Regions from separate parts of the Homo sapiens genome. Here region 1 is linked to region 2. The links are contacts of gene promoters, found by promoter capture Hi-C in human tissues and cell types (Jung and others, 2019). All regions are on one chromosome and are shown on one strand. Each heading gives the region's core, a stretch centred on a gene start or on the middle of the fragment in contact. The rest is flanking DNA. Distances are from core to core; before and after follow the strand shown. Region 1 overlaps ATR (ATR checkpoint kinase). Region 2 holds the start of PAQR9 (progestin and adipoQ receptor family member 9).

What was found. The method cuts DNA at HindIII sites, captures the fragments that hold promoters and counts their contacts. A contact is called where the count stands out against the background at its distance.
Region 1: a fragment that was not itself captured here is called in contact with the fragment with the promoter of PAQR9 in region 2 in 1 of the 25 tissues and cell types used here (small bowel).

What each region holds. Positions count from the first base shown.
Region 1 is chr3:142,563,117-142,565,981 of GRCh38, reverse strand. All of the region lies in intron 3 of ATR (ATR checkpoint kinase), which reads left to right. Among named protein-coding and RNA genes, the nearest start is that of ATR, 14 kb to the left of the region's middle. The HindIII fragment of the contact is 4,616 bases long and covers 1-2,865 here.
Region 2 is chr3:142,962,424-142,965,308 of GRCh38, reverse strand. It overlaps PAQR9 (progestin and adipoQ receptor family member 9), which reads left to right and starts at 1,635. Exons shown (of 1, transcript NM_198504.4): 1 at 1,635-2,885. The coding sequence starts at 1,973. PAQR9-AS1 (PAQR9 antisense RNA 1) reads right to left here and starts at 1,251. Exons shown (of 5, transcript NR_125393.1): 1 at 1,211-1,251; 2 at 673-844. RefSeq lists a silencer at 2,421-2,606. The HindIII fragment of the contact is 8,480 bases long and covers 1-2,885 here.

The DNA.
Region 1 (2,865 bases), core at 226-2,725, 400 kb after region 2:
GGTTATTTTTCCTTCACATATCCTTATTGTTTTCTTTTTAGTATTGTATACTAGGTACTTAGAAATAATCAAATTTGTTTATTTGCCATTGAACACTTTGGCATGGTTTTCTTTTTTCTGTTTTTGGTAATCTCTTTCTTCTAGATCAGAGCTTGGCAAGCTGTAGTCCACAGGGTGGCTGCCTGTTTTTGTGAACAAAGTTTTGGTGTTTTGTTTTGTTTCCTTTTTTTTTTTTTTTTTTTTTTTTTAAATAAGACAGGGTCTCGCTATGTTGCCCAGGCTGGTCTTGAACTGGTAGACTCAAGGGATCCTCCTGCCTCAGCCTCCTGCATACCTGGGACCATAGGCACATGCTACTGTGCCTGGCTTCAGTTTTTGTAAACAAAGTTTTATTAGAACACAGCCATGCTCATTCTTTTACTTATTGTCTGTGACTACTACAAAGGCAACTTGGGCACTCAAGCCAAAAATATTACTATCTGGTCCTTTAAAAAAAGTTTGCTGACCGCTATTCTATATATTGAAGCTTTTCTCTAGGCTTATTCTTTATTGCACCTACTACTTTTGTCCCTTCATTGGTGTCTTCATAAAGAGATGCAAAATAAACATTTTTTTTGTATAATGGATAAAGTATTTTAAAATTTTTTGTTCAAACTTTAACTCAACTTTGATAGCATGTCCTCCAAGAAGTTTTTTTCTGAGCACTACTTCTAACTGCTTAGAACTGGCTTGGTTATTCCTTTATTCTCTCTTAGTACTAAGTGTTCTGCATTTCATCTATCATAGAGGCTATTAAACTGTGCTCTAATCATTGGTTTGTCTATATTCTTTCCTACAGTAGTTTTTAAACTACAGGTCATAACCCACTAGTGGGTTATGAAATTAGGCAATTATCAGCATTTAAAACAAGATGAAATAAACTAGAAAATATCATAGGCTGGGCACGATGTCTCACGCCTGTAATCCCAGCACTTTGGGAGTTCGAGACCAGCCTAGGCAACATGGCAAAATCCTGTCTCTACCAAAACCAAACCAAACCAAACCAAAACAAAACAGAAAAACATTAGCTGAACATGGTGGCACATGCCTGTGGTACAAGCTACTTGGAAGGCTGAGGCACACTAATTGCTTTAGCCTGGGAGGCAGAGATTGCAGTGAGCTAAGACCATGCCGTTGCACTCCAGCCTGGGTAACAGAGTGAGAACCTGTCTCAAGAAAAAAAAAAAGAAAATATTATAGTACATTGTATGTAATAAGAGTAAGTACTATTTAATGAACCTTTTGTTTTAAATATTTAAATAAAATGCATGTATATGTACTGGGTCATGATATAAAATGTTATTTCTTTGTTGCAGTCAAAAAGCTCAAGAAACTGTACTGTGAGATTCATGAGGACAGGACTATGACTGATTTATTCTTGTGTACCTGAGACAGAGTCACCACTCAAATTTTAGTTGAAAGAATGACAATAGCTACCCTTTATTGAACATTTATTTTACTTTGGAACTGTGCTGAGTATTTCATGTGCATTTTCTTATTTGGTCCTCACAGTAACCCATAACATAGATAGCATTATTCTCCTTATACATGAAATTACAGAGGTTCAGAGAAATGAAAAGTTTATACAACTAGTAAGTGGAAAGCTAGGACCTTGCCTGTCTGACTCCAAAGTTGTTACAGGCATACCTCAGAAATATTGTGGGTTCAGTTCCAGACCACTACAATAAAGTGAATATTGCAATAAAGTAAGTCACATGAATTTTTTGGTTTCCCAGTGCATATAAAAGTTATGTTTACGTTGTACCTTAAGTGTGGAATAGCATTATGTCTAAAAAACAATGTATGTACCCTAATTAAAAATACTTTATTACTAAAAAATGCTAACGATTATATCATCCTTCAACAAGTTGTAATATTTGTGCTGGTGGAGTGTCTTGCCTTGATGTTGAGGGCCTTTCTCTGGATTAGGCTTTGGCTTAAGGGAATGTTGTGGCTGGTTTGATCTTCTTTTTTTCCTACTGGAAATTTCCTCATCTTTTAACGATTTGATCTTCTATTCAGAGTACAAAAACTTTCTCCATACCAGCAATAAGGCTGTTTCACTTTCTCATCAATGGTGCGTTCAGTGGAGTAGTACTTTTAATTTCCTCCAAAAACTTTTTCTTTGTTTTAACAAGTTGGTTGTTTGGTGAAAGAGGCCTAGCTTTCAACTTGTCTTGGCTTTCAACATGCCTTCCTCAGTAGGCTTAATCATTTCTAGCTTTTGATTTGAAGTGAGAGATGTGTGACTCTTCCTTTCATTTGAACACATAGAGGCCATTGTAAGGGTTATTAATTAACCTAATTTCAATACTGTGTCTCAGGGAATAGGGAGACACAAGGAGAGGGAGAGAGATGGGGAACTGCTGGTCGGTGGGTCAGAACACATACATTTATCCATTAAGTTTGCCACCTTATATCGGTGTGGTTCATGACAGCTCCAAACAATTACAATAGTAACATCAAACGTCACTGATCACAGATCACCATAACAGATACGATAATAATGAAAATGTTTGAAATATTTTGAGAATTACCAAAATGTGATACAGAGACATGAAGTGACCACATGCTATTGGAAAAATGGCACTGATACACTTGCTTGATGCAGAGTTACCACAACCTTCAATTTGTGACAAATGCAGTATCTGCAACGTGCAATAAAACTGGGTATGCCTGTGTTCTAAACTATTATGTTTCCATTGTGAAGAGAATGTTTTACACTCTTGTTAGTGAAGTTTATTCTTTAAAAGTCAATCGTCAAGGATTTAGCAAATGAATTAGCACTTCGGATATACTTGTTTATTTAATATCTTTTTTGTTTAT
Region 2 (2,885 bases), core at 386-2,885:
CTAGACTGTTTCTAGCATCCTTAAGTAACTGCAGACACTTATAATACTGAATGATATCCTAGTTATAAATAATTCTTATCCATAACTTAAATCCATCTTGAGGCTCTACTAAGTAAATCTTCCTTAACCTACTTAGAGGATGTGCAGTAGCGATGAAAGTAGCCTTTCTTTTCTTTTTCTTTTTTTTTTTTTTTTTGAGACGGAGTCTCGCTCTGTCGCCAGGCTGGAGTACAGTGGCGCGATCTCGGCTCACTGTAACCTCCTCCGCCTCCTGGGTTCCAGCGATTCTCCTGCCTCAGCCTCCCGAGTAGCTGGGACTACAGGCGTGCGCCACCACTCCCACATAATTTTTTGTATTTTTAGTAGAGACGGGGTTTCACCGTGTTGGCCAGGATGGTCTCAAATCTCTTGACCTCGTGATCTGTGTGCTGGGAGTACAGGCGTGAGCCACCGCGCCCGGCCTTAAGCCCCTTTCTTTAAGGCTCAAGGGCATATTTTCACACTGCAGTGCATCACAACCGTTTTCATTCTTCCAGTGTTCCTTTCTTCTGGTCTCCAGCCACCTGCCAGGTACTTCTGATTAATTACATATAAGATTTATCCAAGCCACCCCCTCCGTTTCTACCAACTGGACTTCATTCTCTTCAGTTCCTGCTAGAATGCACCTCCTACCTGAAGTCTTCCCTCATCAATGCCCTCCATGATCAGCCTTTGACTCTGGAATCCCTTAATATATTCCTCAGATCATTAGAGGTTTTCTGAGTCATCATCTGAGATTTTTCATTAAATTGTGGAGTTTGAGCAGCCAGTCCTGAGCTGTCGGACTCAGTTCCAAATAGAAGTCCTAGTTAAAGACACAAAAACAAGAAGATGGGTTAGCTGCGGCTCGAAGAGCTGGTGAGCGCGACCACAGGGCAGCTTGCGGACGGTTCTTTCGGACAGGACAAGGGCGAGGGAAACGGCAGAATGGTGACGCACCTGAGTGCGCCCACTAGACGAAAGAAGACCAACTAAGCCTTCGTGTAGTGCGTAGACAGGCCGACACACACACACACACACACACACACACACTAACACACACGCAAAGACAGTGAGGGAGCGAGAGGCGCATCCCCAGGTAGCTGACAATGACACGGCCCCGATCCGGACGCGGGCTTAAAGCCCCCCGACTTCCGGAGTGCCCCCCTCCCCGGCGACCTCCGGAGATTACCGCTGGCGCATCTCTCCGCCCTGCCCGGCTCCGGCGCCCTCCCCTCCCCCCGCAGCCGCAGCTCCCCGCCCCCCGCGAACGCGGCTCCCCAGTGTCCTCCAGAACGCCCGCGTGGCTGTCGGGTTTCGAACCCCAGGGCCGACTCTAGTACTCGGCGCGCGCGCCGCCGCGTCGCCGACCAGCCTGCGGCCCCCGCATCAATCATTAACGGGGCGGCCCGGGCTGCGGCGGCCCGAGGAGGGGGATGGTACGGAACTCGAGACAGGGGACAACTCTATCCCCCGAAGCGGCCGCGAAACCCTAGCCTGGGAGGCCCCCGCCCTTCCTCGGTGCGCCCGTCCCTCCCTCCGCGCCTCGGCTCGCACATCCCCACCTCCCGCTCCGGGGGCGGCGGCGGCGGAGGCACCCGCACCGCGCGATGCCCAGTCACCGCTGCCGCGCTGCCGCCGCAGTCAGCCGCGCCGCCGCCGCTGCCGCAGCGCGGGCGGCCGCGCGCCGGTAGCAGGGGCTTGGCGAGGAAGCCGCTGAGCCTCGCGCGCTCCGCGCTCCTGGCGGTCGCAGCGCTGCCTATTAATTGATTCTCTTATTGATTTATTTAATTTTTAGGAGCGGCTGCTCGGAGGCACGGGTCTTCTCCTAAACCTGCAGCGACGCCCCCGGCGTGGGCACAAAGGCTCCGACGGCGGCCGGCGGGGGCTGCCCAGCGCCCGGGAGCCGGCGCCAGAGGTCGCCTGCGCGCGCCCTAGCCGAGCCCCGGGCACCATGCCGCGGCGCCTGCAGCCCCGGGGCGCGGGCACAAAAGGCCCTCCGGCCCCGGCCCCGGCAGCTTCGGGGGCCGCCCGGAACTCCCACTCTGCCGCCTCCCGGGACCCCCCAGCGTCTGCCAAGCCGCTGCTGCGCTGGGACGAGGTGCCCGACGACTTCGTGGAGTGCTTCATCCTGTCGGGCTACCGGCGTCTGCCGTGCACGGCCCAGGAGTGCCTAGCCTCGGTGCTGAAGCCTACCAACGAGACGCTCAACTTCTGGACGCACTTCATCCCGCTGCTGCTGTTCCTGAGCAAGTTCTGCCGTCTGTTCTTCCTGAGCGGCGGCGACGTGCCCTTCCACCACCCGTGGCTGCTACCGTTGTGGTGCTACGCGTCGGGAGTGCTGCTGACCTTCGCCATGAGCTGCACGGCGCACGTGTTCAGCTGCCTGTCGCTGCGTCTGCGCGCCGCCTTCTTCTACCTGGACTACGCGTCCATCAGCTACTACGGCTTCGGCAGCACGGTGGCCTACTACTACTACCTGTTGCCAGGCCTCAGCTTGCTGGATGCCAGAGTCATGACTCCATACTTGCAGCAGCGCCTGGGCTGGCACGTGGACTGCACGCGCCTTATCGCCGCCTACCGCGCCCTGGTGCTGCCTGTGGCCTTCGTGCTGGCGGTGGCTTGCACTGTGGCCTGCTGCAAGAGCCGTACCGACTGGTGTACCTACCCGTTCGCGCTGCGCACCTTCGTCTTCGTCATGCCGCTCAGCATGGCCTGCCCCATTATGCTCGAGAGCTGGCTCTTCGACCTGCGTGGGGAGAACCCCACACTCTTCGTGCACTTCTACCGCCGCTACTTCTGGCTGGTGGTGGCCGCCTTCTTCAACGTGAGCAAGATCCCCGAGCGCATCCAGCCGGGTCTTTTCG